Regions from separate parts of the Homo sapiens genome. Here region 1 is linked to region 2. Evidence: promoter capture Hi-C in 16 types of primary human blood cells and fetal thymus (Javierre and others, 2016). All regions are on one chromosome and are shown on one strand. The core of a region is centred on a gene start or on the middle of the fragment in contact, and the rest is flanking DNA. Distances in the headings are between cores, read along the strand shown. Region 1 holds the start of LSM6 (LSM6 homolog, U6 small nuclear RNA and mRNA degradation associated). Region 2 holds the start of SMARCA5 (SNF2 related chromatin remodeling ATPase 5).

Region 1 (7,355 bases), core at 3,402-5,901, 2.7 Mb before region 2:
CAATCAACACTTCCAACTTTCACGGAGCACCTGTCAAGTTCAGGCGCACAGGGTTGGGGAATGTAACACAAAGACAAGGCCTTAAGCCCTCAGAGTTTACATTCCAGAGAGGGCAAGAAACATGTAAATGCAGAATTTTACAAAGGTGATGTGTATTCTGATAGAATTATGCACAAAAGGGCAGAGAACACTCTCTTACCCCAGGCTTGGCAGATCAAAGAATTTCTGGAAGTTAACACCTGAGCTGAATTTGAAGGAAAAGGCGTCACCCCCTAGCTGAAAGAAGAGAAGTCAGAAAAGGCACGGAACAAGTGTCTGGGTAGAACGTAAAATCTACATAGGCAAGGAGGAGACGCCTCTGCGGCAGGGAGCTGTGCCACATTCACAGGGAGCACAGAGTTGAGGCTCTGGGTCAGTTTCCCAAACTTGAATCATTAGGATCAGCTGGAGATTCTACTCAGTAGTTCTGGGGTAGGAGCCAGCAATCTATTTGAACAAGCCTAGGAAATAACTGGCAAGGGGAAATACTGTTGTCAATGATAGGAAACAGGGGTTTTAAGCAGGAACTTGCTTGGGTTCCACTCTCTACTTTCCATAGCAGAGTGCAGATGCCCATCTCACCTACTTTTGGCATCACATAGTTTGGCATTTGATTTTATTTGCTATAACCTGTCACTATGCCCTCTTTTGTATTCTTTATGTGGGTCTTTTCTCCCTCAAAATACTGTAAGCCACATGACAAGAGGGGCTCACAAGCTTCTCATCTGTTCTCTAGAATATCTACATTCTACTAAACCTCTTGGAAAAAAAATACTTCTAAGGTTATTTGGAAAAGAGTATATGGGTTGCCTCAAACACATTTTATCCATCACTTTAGGAAAGCCGTATCTTTTACATTAGTCTTCATTAGGCTTCCTTGCTACTCCCTGTTACTTAATGACTTGCCCATAAATCCATTTTGTATGAGTAAATTGGTCTTGACACCACAATTTTTCCCATCACTTGGCTCAAGTAATTTTAAGTTTTCATCTTTTAAATTGGATAAAGCAGAAGAAACAGTTCTGACAATTTCTGAAGCAAGAGATGAGTCTCTTGAACCATAAACACATAAGAGGAAAAAGACCTTTCTTCAGGGTCACCCTGGTAAAACTTCTCCTTTCAAAATTAAAGTCATAATCACTCTCTATACCTCCTCTCCCTCCCCTGACTCCTACTCAGGCTTGTTTTAAATGACCTATTTTCATAAATGACTATTAAGTCAAAGGCAGTATATTTTCTGTCAGAAGCTACTGAGAGGTCTAGTATGAAAACATCTGCAAAGTGCCCTGCAGGGAATTTTTTTCTTTTTGGTAAAAGAATGAAGAAAAAAAAGAACTTTTATTAACCCAACTATGTGCTACCAGAGTTAGATTCATAAGCAATTTACAGAGAAACCCTGTGAGGTGGAAAGCAAAGCCAAGGCTGACCCCAAAGCCCAAGCCCTTTCACAGGTACAGCTGCCCTTCTGAATATGTTAAGATTCTCTGGTTAAATCTTGGGGAATCGCAATAGAGGCGGTGAGAAATCCAGTTGGAGAGTAGCAGCACTGGGGAAAAAAAATACCTAACGTGACAAAGTGCTGTAAATTAGCCTCAGAGAAATACAATGGACAGATGCAAAGAAATCTATCTCATGTGATTTGAGTTATGCCACTGAGCAGAAGACATGAAAATCCTTATTTCTTGGCAATGTTTACCTGTAAGTTTTTACCTACTCCTGGCGTATTTACAGTTTAGGGTGAAAAGAATTTGAAAAGCAAAAATTGCAAGGAAACATTACAATCCAAGTAATTGCAGCACTAGACTAATAGATCAGTGTCTGAGGAGGCGATCAGATAGGCAGAAGAACAGCTCTCTAAATCCTCCCTTCGGACACAGTGGAGTTCCTCGCTGTCTTTTGAAGGCTTCATACCAATCCCTCCTTCCTCGGCAGCAGGGGCTACTTCTCTCCCTCTCTCCCAAAGGCGAAGTGAGTCCACTCAGAGCACCTCTTTCCACTCTCAGTCATGGCCCTTATCAGGCTGTTTCGTAATTTTTCCATTTGCTGACTGGTCTCCCGTGCGAATTTAAAGCTTCTTGGGGACAGGGAAAATATCTTACTCACTTGGTGTCCCTGGTACCTAAGCACACTACCCAAGTCTGTGGAAGAGACATTCAAGGCCAGTGCCAAGCAAAATCCCTGTCCAGCCCCCATCAGCCCAAACTATGGATACAGTGACCAGTAGGATCATGCATGTACTTCAACAAATACTAACCAAGTAATCTCTATTATGAGCACCAAAAACTGAGAAAACAACTGTTTGTGTCATTCAAGAACCAGCTGTTTCCAAATCTAGAGATGCTTGTTAAAATGCAGATTTTCCCGAAGTCTACTCAGGTAAAGGCACTGTATTTTACATTTTATAAAGTTCTCCAGATAATTTCTATAAGCAAATGGTTCTCATCTAGGGGCAGTACCCCCAACCCTGCCCCACCCTGCTCAGGGACACTTGGAAATATCTGGGGACACTGAACTGTCATGACTGAGGAAGGTGGTGCTACTGCTATCCTAGTGGGTAGAGACCAGGGATGTTGCTAAACATTTTACAACTAACAGGACGGCCCTCCACAACAAAGGACTGCCCAGCACAAAATGTCAATGGAAGTTGACAATCTCTGCTATAAGCCCTAAATAAAAAAATAAATAAAAATAAATAAAAATAAAAAAAATTGTTCTTTGGTTTTAAAGTGAGGAGTTTTAAAGAAATCTCCAAGGTACCGCAAATGATAACCAAAAGCTACATTCTAACCAAATGATGGAGTGTAGGTTATAATTAATCAGGGGTGTTTTATTCTAACATATAGGGAACCTGAAAACAACTGTCAAAATCTTGAAGGGGTTGCCATTCTAAATAATGGATTTCTAGTCTTGGCCATGAAAATGATCACTTTCCAATTTTTCAGTGTTACAGGTCTCTCCGATGATTAAAATCTGTTAGTACACTTTTAAAAGGAGAGAATAACCCAGGTGATGTAAACAAATTTTTAAATTCTAGTATCTACTATGCCACAGTTCAGTGAGAGACTGCCTGATACAGCACAGAGTACTCACTTGGGAGGCAGGAAACCTGAGTTCTAATCCCAGCTCTGCTACTTAATTAGCTGTGTGACTTGGATAACTCATAATTTCACTTCTCATGGCCCCAGGTTCCTCATCTGCAATATAAGGGAGTTATGCCAGATGACCACTTAAGTCTCTTCCTGCCCTAACATTCAGGTAGTCTAACGCATTAACGCCAGTGACACACACACACACACACACACCACAAACACAAGCCTCTCAAGATTTCTGCACAATATTTAAGCAAGTAAAATTACCAAACATCTCTAAAACTTTTTTGGAAAACACTGCAGCAATGTGTATGAAGGCCTAAAACAGACCTTTCAGATGACAGCATCTAATCTGATAATTTCACTTCTGAGAATCTAGTCCAAGGAAATAATCTAAAAAATAGGGGGAAAAGAGTTTATCAAAGCACTATCTGGGATGCTAAGATGATGTAAAAATTCAAAAACAATCTAATGTCCCACAATCGGGAAATGACTGAATAATTTACGGGACCTAAACTGGGACCCACAATGATAGGACAATCAAAAGAAGATACAAAATTAGAATAATATTTAGGAAGAGTTTTTAAATGGAAGTGGAAAACTACACTGTTAAGTGATTAAACATGTACACTCTTAGTTCAAGTAGAAGCTAGCACATACAAGAGAAAATGATCGTAGGTGAAAGGGTTCAGTGAATATTATTTTCTTCACTAAAGTCTTCTATGTTTGCAATTTTCTACAATAGTCACGTATTACTAAGAGCAGTGGGGCAGGGTAATCCGCATCATCTTAATCCTACACACCTTAAAAATGCCTGCTATGCAGGTGTGCGGACACGCATACGCACAGAAAACCTTGGGCGATAGGACTTAAGACCATACAATCGGGTTCCTCGACCTGACAACTTGGTAAGACAGGCGAGTCCAGCCTTTAATTCCTGTGGTCAGGCGCAGCCACCCCGATGTAGGAGAGGGTTCGCAATTCCCTGAAGCCCTCCTGGAAGACAGGCGAAGCCTAGGCCTGGGTTCGGGATCCGCTTTCCCGCCGAATCTTGGGATTAGCGTCGGGGCTCCCTGGGGAACTTCAACAACCTGAATTGATCTCGGACGCCAACTCGGTAGGAGCCGGGACGGTGCCGCTCCTCTCCGCGCAGTCTAGGCGCCTCGCTGAGGGCGGTCCCGGCGCCCACCATCAGACCTCTCCCAGCCATTCCATGCGCGGAGAGCTTGGACGCGGCATTTCGCGGGGACCCGCCACCCAGCGGTCCCTTCCCGGAGCCCCAGCCTGTTCACCGCAGGCCCTTTCCGGGGCTGCCTCGCCCGGCCTAGGGCCGCTGCAGCCGCCGCTCCACAGCGCGACTGAACACTGGGGCACCGAACCTGGGGCTGCGCCCGGCCCCGTCGTCGGCCCGCGCAGCGGTGCGGCTCACCTCGCCGGCGGGAACCAGAACCCTCACTCCAGGCGCCCCACGAGCCCGGCCGCCGCGGATGATCCCAGCCAAAACCGAAAGCGCCGAGGCAGGGGCACTTTTCTGCCTCAGCCAATCAGTGCTCTTCTCTGCTACGGCAGCCCGCTGGGGCCGAAAAAGCCTGTCAGCACCAAAGCGCGCAAATCCAAGATTCCTGGTTTGTCTAGTAGCAAAATTGGTGCAGTGGAGTTCCTCTAACAGAAATCTGAGTACAAAACAAATACAATACAAAACAAAAACAAAATTCCAGGAAACTAGAAGTGATCTTTTGGGCAGGATTTATTTACAGAAGTGTAAAAAATAACTTGAAGTCATAGGAAACTGGAATTTACTGTTTAAGTAACGGCATTGTGTACCCAGAAACGTCCTTGAATAGTTTAAAGCAAATAAATAAATAAATGAAACACCTCAAGTCTTTAAATCTACCTCTGGATATTGATTAAATGTGTGAAGACTTAAGCCATTTTAGCAAGAGACTGTTTCCATGGCAATGTTAATTGATACAAAAATAATCAAAATCACTCAAGTAACTCCAAATTATAATGACATTAATTGTGTTACATTACTAGTTCCTATTGGAAATGGTGTGCAGACTTATTTCAGTGCTACTATGGGAACTTGGTTTGGAATTTTGCATGAATTCTCAATACTCTTTCTATTAATGGAATTGAAAGGGAAAAAGAAGAGAACTGTTACACCAGGACTTGATTCGTTTTTCCCCCTCCACATATACTCTCATCAGTTGAAAACTTATACTTTAATTATATTTATGATTTGTAACACTATACACAGAGTGATAAGATCTTTCAACACAGATCCTTAACCCCATTAGGTGTTATAAAATCTAAGATGCAAAATTTTTTTCGAAGATAAAGAGTTCCTCCCTTGTAAACTTCTTTTGGTTAAAGGCAGAAGAAATGAACTTTTGATTGATATCAGGGACAGAAAACAACTGGATATGATTTGTTAAAGAATAGAGACTTCCTTATATCCTTCTATAAAAGTTCAGTTTGGATAAAGACCGAACAGTTACTGATTTATTGTGAGGGCTGTATTTGAAGTTCTTGCAATATAAAATACAATGTAAATAAAAATTTTAAGAAAAGTACCATTTAAATCAAATAATTACGTGCAAAGAACAAACATAATAGGATAAAAAGCCCTGTTCCTAAAAACTTTCTTTGCAAACGACATCAAATTGCACATTCCTTACTGATTGTTTAAATTATTAAAAAAAAAAAGAAAATTTTTGATTCAAACTTCTTTCCCTTTCCTACAGAGCCCTAATCGAGCCGTTAACACTAGTGTGGTGGGTAGGGAGCCATGAGGAGTTTTAAGGGCCTAGTTCATCTGCTGAGCAGCTGCAACCTTCTCTAAGGGGAGTAGCTGGGTAAGGGCCCAGTTTGACACACGGGGTGGGCATCCTGAATTAATTCATGAGCTAACAAGCTTATAAAAAGTGTGGCTGTTCCCAAAAGCCCCTCAGCAGCTTATAAATGACTTTTACTAACTCACAAGGCAATTTTCCGTATTTCCCAGGTTTTTGCTTTCAGCATCTTTTATGATGCAAAGAAAACACTGCAAGACTTTTGGTGAATACTAGTCTTCAAAACCCTGAATGTAAACATTAATTTATTAAGGAGCCTTAAAGTCATAAAAATATTTTGGCAAGCTTTAGTTTAACTTATGTAGTTTAGTTTCATTTAGTTGTTAGGACTGATGAACCTACACTGACACATCATTATCATCCAAAGGCCAAAGTTTACATTAGGGTTCACTCTTGGTGTTGCACATTCTATAGGTTTTGACAAATGCATAATGAAATGTACCCACAATTACAGTATCATACAGAATAGTTTCACTGCCCTAAAAATTCTCTGTGCTCCACCTATTTATCCCTTCCTCCCCACTGGCAACCGCTGATCTTTTTTCTGTCTCCAAAGTTTTGCCTTTTTCCACAATATCATATATTTGGAATCATACCGTACACAGTTAGTGGTGCATACACTGCACCACCCCACTGTGTAGCCTGTTCAGACTGGCTTCTTTCACTTAGAAATATGCATTTAAGACCCCTCTGCGCCTTTTCATGGCTTGACAACTCATTTCTTTTAAGTTCTGAATAATATTCCATTATTTGGATGTACCACAGTTTATTTATCCATTTACCTACAGAAGGACATCTTGGTTGCTTCCAAGTTTGGGAAGTTATGAATAAAGCTGCTATGAATATGTGTATGCAGGTTTTTGTATAGAAATAAGTTTTCAGCTTATTTGGGCAAATATCAAGGAGTATGACTGCTAGATCATATAGCAAGGGTATGTTTAGTTTTGTAAGAAACTGCCAAACTGTCTTACAATGTGGCTGTACCATTTTGCATTCCCACTAGGAGTGAATGAGAGTTTCCATTGTTCCACATCCTCATGGGCATTTGGTGCTTCCAGTCCTTTGGATTTTGACTAGTCTAATAGCTGCTTAGTGACTATCTCATAGTTGTTTAAAGTTGTAATTCCCTAGTGACATATGATATGGAGGATCTTTCTATATACTTATTTGCCATATGTATATCTTTGGTTGTTCAGGTCTTTGGCCCAATTTTGAATCAGTTTGTTCTTTCTTTTTGTTGAGTTTTAAGAGTCCTTTGTATATTTTGAATAATAGTTCTTTATCAGATATGTGTTTTACAAATATTTTCTCCCAGTTTATGGCTTGTCTTTTCATTCTCTTGAAGCTATTATGCTTAAAATAGACAAATGCA
Region 2 (7,304 bases), core at 4,574-7,073:
GAAAAGCATTGTAGAGAGCCACTGAAAAACCTCCATTTCACAGTCAAATTTGTGTTATAAATAACACTTTGCAAAAATGTTAAGAAACTTGGAAGGGGCCAGATCATAAGAAAGGAGGCAAATACAGAAGCACAAAATAATCCATGCAATAATAGAAAAATACTAAACTAGGGTGATATGGAAAAGAGAATAAACTCGTAAGTAAACTTATTGTTTACAAGTATGCAGTACTGTCATGAACATCTTGAGTATACCTGAAGAGGAACTTTCATTCATTGAGGTAACACTAAGGTATGCTAAGTAAAAATTATGAATTCAGTTTTGGATATTCTCAAGTAAGAGGTATGAATAGGATTTTAAAGTAAATGAAAATACGGATTACAGGCTTCTGGGCTAGAGGTTAAGTATTTGAAAATATTCAGTTTAAAGATACCAGGTAAAAACCAGTAAGAATCAAACTGTCTAGGAAGAAATGTTCAAATTTTAATAAGGAAGGACAAAGGAATAAAAAAGCAAAGAGGATATTATCACGGGAAAAAATGTCTTTCAAGGCAAGTCAAGATTTTTGAGGAATGGTCAACAATGTCAAGCACAAATCAAGAAACTAAAACTAAGCCTCAGAATTGGCAATTAGATTCACCAGCAGAGTGTGTCAGAATCTAAACTATAAAGGGTTAAAGCAGTATTAAAATATGTAGACTGTATTCAAAGTAGTATTCACTTTAAAAAAACAGAGCGGCAAATCTATTTTTTCTCTAAGTTTGATAGCAAAAAAGGTGACAGTTACATATATACATATGTAAAATATATAACAAATCAAACCTAAAGATATATCATTTATAATTTACATAGTGTTATATGTATTGTGCATATTATACATGCACATAAAATACATACCATAATTTTAAGATTTTGAAGCTATTTAAGACATTCAAAAATATTTACTGATTTGGAAGAGAAAGTCAAAGGACAAGAAAAAAGTATGTTTTAAAAAATATGTAAGATCTGCTATGTGCCAGATACTGTTCTGGGTACTGAAGACAGAAAGAAAGATTAAGACACTGTTTTTACCCTACAGGAGCACACTGTGTAGTGGTATTCTTATTTAATACATTGTTATTTTAACTTTTTGAGATTTCAATACAATTAAATGAGTTTAATCCATATAAAGCATTCCTAACAGGGTCAGATACGGAGTAAACATTCACTGTTAGCCACTACTACTATTACTAAAACTGAATTTAAATTTAAAGCTCTGTGTAGGTACTGTTTAAGTCAAGTCATAGTTTTGAGAAGTTTCTTAGAAGATACGGAACGTGAACTGGGACTTGAATGACTCCAATATAATGTCATGTTCTTTTTGTAAAGACCCCATCTATAATATAAAAATGCTGTGAACAAGGAGCATATTTCTTTTTTTGGTAACTAGCAGAGTACAATGCTAGTCAAGTGCAGAATAAACATACACTGAGTAACTATTCTGGTCTTCACCTCGCTTCCAAGGTTAAATTTTTAAAGGTGTTGTTAACATAACTAGATAATGACATCATATTATGTTAATTCATATAATACTTCCATTTGGCTTACATAGACACATAAGATATGGAAGTTATAGTATTCCATATTACACATATTTCAAATGGATATCTGTGCCATAATTACAAAAATTAAACAGACATTGCTATGGTTTGACTGTGTCCCCCTCCAAATCTCCCATGTTGTAATTTAATCCCCAACGCAACAGTGTTGGGAGGTAGGGCCTAATAAGAGGTGATTAGGAAAAGATTACTGTCAGTATCTCAGGAGGAGGTTATCACCAGTGAGCTTGTTATAAAAGAAAGTTCAGTCCTGTCTTGCTCTCTTCTCTTGGCCTTCCTCCATATAATGACACTGCAAGAAGGCCCTCAACAAATGCTGGCCTTGACCTTGGACTTGCCAGCCTCCAGAACTCTAAGAAATAAATTTCGTTTCTTTATAAATTACCCAGTCTGTGGTATTGTTGTAACACAAAATGGACTAAGATAGATGTTTAGTACATTTAATCACCTGATAAAAAGTTTTCCTTATAGACTCTATTCACAAGCCTAGAACATACCATTTTTTCTTCATAGGTAGGATCTGGTTCTTGGATTTCCTTTTGCTTTCCAGGTGACGCATCATCAAATATTTCCTGGTAGAAAGAAATAATTAAATAGAATTGGTCTTCGAAAATAGTAAACATACCATTATAGACCAATTTCTGACCAAAACACATCTTAAATAATACATTCTCACCCCAAACTTCCTAGAAACTTAAACAGCTGTCATCTAAGCTAACAGAAAAACTGATAAAATGATATTAGATACTATGGGGATAACAACGTATTTAACCCATATATATAAACTGTATGGTTGTTGCCAAGATTAGAACACAAGATTATCTTCATCATCCTAAAAGAAAACTACATTTAATACAAGCCAATCTGTTTCTCTTTTTCTGTAATAACCATGAAACCAAACTAAATAGTATAAAATGTGGGGAAAAGTTCCCCTTTTGTCATAAAACTACAGTATCTACTGTGCTACCACACAAATGTCTACAAAGAAATCAGAATTAGTCACCCTGATTTCCACCTTCTGGAATATTACAAAAACTTTATCTCGCAGCCTAAATTGAATACTCTAACTACAGTCTGATTCCTAAACTAGTAATAAATGTTATTCTTGCAAATATATTTATCCTGACATTCATATGTCACAAGCAACAAAAAACAACTTCTACACTGCAAAGTTCTATTCATCCATTAAAAAAAATTGGCAGAAGTAATCTTCATTAATGATGCACAAATCTATGCTAGGCAATATATGCTATAATAAAACTATCTGTGACCAAAAAGTTGTGGGGAGGAGATCTGGTACGGTACTGGAATAGAAGGTAAAATGACCTTAAGTCAAGTCTAACTTCATTGTTAAGACCCTTGGCACTTGTGTGACCCTATGTTCATCATAAATCTCTGGTCTACATATGTAAGTGACAAAGCCACCTACCCAGTCCAGTTTACAAAATTCCAAAATGCCATGAAATGCAACCTACAAAAATAAAATGTGCTTCAGGCATCTTGACATCACATTATTGGTATACAGGTGACTATTTAATCAATCTAGTCAATAGAGATGAGGATGAACACAGAAGAGTTCCACACTGCCAAAAGGATAACTAAAAAACAAGTGCTCCATTGACCTATTAGTATCAAGCAAAAAGAAAAAAAGTAACTGAATACATAGGAAGGCTATTTCTGGGAAAATCAGCTTTGTCACCAAAAAAAAAAAAAAAAAAAAATTCATGAATGCTGGGTTTACTCTGTTTAGAAAAACACCTTAGATCATACTTCCAAACAAGAAAAAGTCATTTATAAAATATTCATTTTCCAAGTGCAAAACAGATTAAGTTGTGACATATATATTAAGCATGTGTGCTCAAACTTAGTTTATATCATGAATTGCAGTAATTCTGAATTTTGTTAAACAGGAAACTGACATTTTAAAAGACAAAAAAAAAAATCACACTATAATGTCAACCAAAAAAAAAATGTGTCAGTGATAAGATGGATAAAAAAATAAAATTCCTAATATTTCTATACTAGGAAGGTAAAAATAACAATGTTATTCAATAAATTGAACCGCCAAATATGTTTTTTTTGGTAAGAACATGGCAGAGCAAGATGGGTGGGAAACGGCTCACTTTTAAAGGCAGATCCGAGTTTTATTACAGGTTCTACCTAGTAGAACTCAATTTCCCCATCTGGCAAATGAAAATATCACTAATTTAATACGGTAGTGATAACATCTATACTCACGTTTGAACTTAAAATCAATTTTCATTTAAAATAGCAACTTCAAGTCAAAAATGTTGACTTGCTTTAGGCTTAAAATTACTCTGCATTCAGATATTAATAAGACCTCTGGTGAAACATTCATTTTTCCAAAGTTTGGATGGCAGACCCCTTTGAGAAGCTGAGGAAAAACTATAAACAATTTTTGTAGAGAACTGCACATTTACACATAATTGCTTTGTGTCAAACCCCTTAAGCCTTGGAACAGAAATCCAAGTTAAAGAGCCCTAGTAACCCAAAAGAACCATTTCCTTAAGGAAAAAAAAGCAACACTGAATATATTTTAATTTGGAAGTAATCTTATCTTAATCACTCAAAACTACAGGAACTATCAGGAGTTCCTATGTCACTAAACCTACCCTCACCACTAAAAGTTCTTTAAATGATTACTAACATTAATGTTACTTAACCCCAGCTACCCAAATATAACTACTGTGCCAAAAGCCTCAATGGTAAATTACGCTACCATTTTCTTACTGTATAATGATTCTGCATCAAGACTCATCTTCGGAGCAGTATTACTTTCATTCTGTCTAAGGATAGGAAAATCCCAGAAATCTTTGGGCTCCGACTCACAAAATATCTCAAAACAGGTCGAAGGCCAAGAAAATAAAAATTGGAAGGAGCAATTACTTTGTTCCCAGATGCAAAGCCTGGAAGCATATCCAATTTACCCGCCTGGCAGCTTCCCCCATCTTTCCAGCCCCCTCAGTACTGTCAGCATCCCCTGCCCAACCCAAACCCATAAGTCTCGGCAGCGAGTGGTACTAATTTTTTTTTTTCTTAAGGCCAGAGGCCAAAAAGAGAAAAGTGCCGGACTGAGAGCCAACCAACTGCGCCTGGTTCTCTAATTCATTCCTACACTTATTCATCCCCCCTAAATTAGACGGGGGATCCGAGACAGCTGCTGCTGCCTTGGTTGCTTCCCTTCCAGTGGAATAGTGCCTGGGAGGGGCCTTCTCTCCCTTCACAGAAGCAGCTGCGCCCCGCTTATCCCCACTGCGCACTCGGCCATCCAGCTCTCGCCATTGTTTCTGCCCACAACAGATACCGCCCCTGCAAGGACCGGGAAGAAGAAAAGGAGGCCCAAGTCCTCGGACGCGCTGCTTTTAAATGCCTCCTTCACCCCGCCCGTGCATCCCGCTCCTAAGGGGTCATCTCCTCGCCCTTCCCCGAAGTTTGGTGGAAACTAAAAACCACATTCAGAGGTAGGAGAGGGAATTATGGGAGTCTAGTGGGAAAAAAACGATGGGTCCCCCGGGCCACGGTAACCAAGAACATCTGTTCACTGAGAGCGTTCAAATATTTGTCAGGATTCACGAAAGAGACAAATAATTTAAATGTGAGGAGCCAGAAATCCATTTTGCTTAGCTCGAATAGGGTAAGAACAAGGGAGCAAGAGTGAGAGCATCATTTCGTATCCACAGGGTGTGAAGCTGAGTCTGGTGCAGAGAGAGAAACCCGGCTCTGCGTCCGATCGCCACGATCCGGCGAGGGAGCCAGCTCCTCCTCCCCGCTGCACCCGCTCCCCATGCCGCAAGTCGCCCTCACCTCCATCTCGGCGTCTGCGGGACCAGCGCTGGCCGCAGACGCAACCGCCTGCGCCGCGACGCCTTCGGGGCCGCCTTTGTTGCTGCTGTTGCTCCCGCCGCTGGCGATCGAGGCTGCGGGCTTGGAAGGCGCGCTCTCGGGAGGCGGGGGTGGCGGAGGCTCGGCCGCGGACGACATGATGTTCCGTCTGCGTCACCCGCTGCTGCCAGAGGCCCGAGTCCGGCGGGGATGGACGGGGAGGCCTAGGCCTGGATGCTACGTCGCAATAAACTGGTGGAGGAGCGAGACTCCCACCCGAGCGCTCCCCTGCGCCGCGCCTCCGCGACGGGCCTGAGCCGGGCCCAGGAGCTGCACACTCCCAAACGTTCTGCTCTTCCGCGGGGCTCTAGGTTCCACCGGCGCTTACCTCACGGCGGGAATCACGTCGACGAGGGTGGGCGGGGCCAGACGGGTCACTGAGGTCAAGGAAGGCCGGCTGATTTAGAGAAGGGCGGAGGGTTGGGGGAAGGGAAAAGGAAAACGAAAGAGAGACTGAGGCTGGGAAAACGCTTCGCCGCCTCCTCCTCTTCCTCTGGAAGATAACATCTATCTCGCCAGCATCCAGGACGACGACCTACGCCACCGACTTTCAACACTCGCGAGATTCCTTATTGGCTCACTGACTGGGTCCTGAGCGCGCATGCGCATACTGCCCTCCTCACCCTTGGCCCGCCCTCTTCCAGATCTCTAGCCGGCTCGGGAGAGAAGAGTGGGCGGGACCTCCAGGGAGCGCTCGGAGGTGTAGGTTTGTGCGCCTGCTGCTTGGCAGGACGCGAGCTCAGTGTTTTAGGCTTTCGTAACGGCTCACGGTTCTCGCTGTGTCTTCTGTGCCTGACAGGGGTTGGCGGCACTACCGGAAAACTTGTCTGGGTTTTGCGCTGCCCATTCAAACTTGGAAGTCTTGTGTCTGGCCCCAAAACTTCTGCCGTATCCGCTTAGAGGCGTGACGCCACAGCCTTGACGACGTTATGGTTACCCCAAGTGAAGTCTCACGGTTTTTTGTTGTTAGAAAAAAAAAAAAAGTCCGTTAGTGTGATTTTTTTCTTTTTTCTTTTTTTTTTTTTTTGCCTTCTCATGTTAGCTGCGTCGGTTATTTCTAAATACCCTCCTTAGGCACAGAGTTAAATGATATTTCTTCTGAATTTATATGCCAAAGTTAAGCAAATAACGTGCACACTACCATGGAAGTGAGAAACACGAATAATCAATATATGGGGAAGATAGGTGGTGCGATGTAATCTTTTCCCCAAGCATCAAACATGAAAATTAAAACGTACATTCTCCTTAAGTGTTAACAAATATTCAGCACTGATTTTGTATACTGCCTTAGGCAGCCTTCAATGCAGCTTAAGGGCCTTGTGCATTCATCGCCTACAAAATTTAAATACATTGTAGTCTGTTTGATAACGAATCTGCATACTACAGTAGATTACCTGCCCAGTACAGGGTCTTTTTTATCTTTTTTTATTCCTCATATTCAGTATTCTCTAAATGTTTGTTGAGTAAAGGAGACACATTTTTCGAGAGTTGAGGTTTGAGCTAACTGGTTATGTTGAATTCCAAACAGAAGGGATCCCCTTTGAATATATAGCCTGCAAATTTTTTAACTAATGGAATGATAATTCTTAAATGGACATCTGGAAAAATGTCCCCACTCCACTAGAAATGCTAGTTCTTAGACTATAAGGAAATGTCTAAGGATATATGCAAAGATGAATACCTACAATGATGTTCATCATAGTCTTCATATATGACTGCAAAAAGCTAACAACAGTAGGCTGAATCCAGTATTAAAAGTTAGGTGTTTAAAACTGTCATACACCCAGAAAATGAACTATTAAC

The links. Contacts are between HindIII fragments. The CHiCAGO score rates a contact against its expected background, and 5 or more counts as called.
Region 1: a contact is called between the fragment with the promoter of LSM6 here and the fragment with the promoter of SMARCA5 in region 2, in 1 of 17 cell types (activated CD4 T cells). The highest score is 9.1, in activated CD4 T cells.

Annotation. Positions count from the first base shown.
Region 1 is chr4:146,173,014-146,180,368 of GRCh38, reverse strand. LSM6 (LSM6 homolog, U6 small nuclear RNA and mRNA degradation associated) reads right to left here and starts at 4,651. Exons shown (of 4, transcript NM_007080.3): 1 at 4,558-4,651. RefSeq lists a silencer at 4,442-4,501. The HindIII fragment of the contact is 3,935 bases long and covers 2,113-6,047 here.
Region 2 is chr4:143,512,221-143,519,524 of GRCh38, reverse strand. It overlaps SMARCA5 (SNF2 related chromatin remodeling ATPase 5), which reads right to left and starts at 5,823. Exons shown (of 24, transcript NM_003601.4): 1 at 5,424-5,823; 2 at 2,096-2,170. The coding sequence starts at 5,600. SMARCA5-AS1 (SMARCA5 antisense RNA 1) reads left to right here and starts at 4,688. Exons shown (of 2, transcript NR_104027.1): 1 at 4,688-5,080; 2 at 5,300-6,053. RefSeq lists enhancers at 5,203-5,322, 5,383-5,442, 5,733-6,102, 6,133-6,202, 6,233-6,322 and 1 more. The HindIII fragment of the contact is 18,533 bases long and covers 1-7,304 here.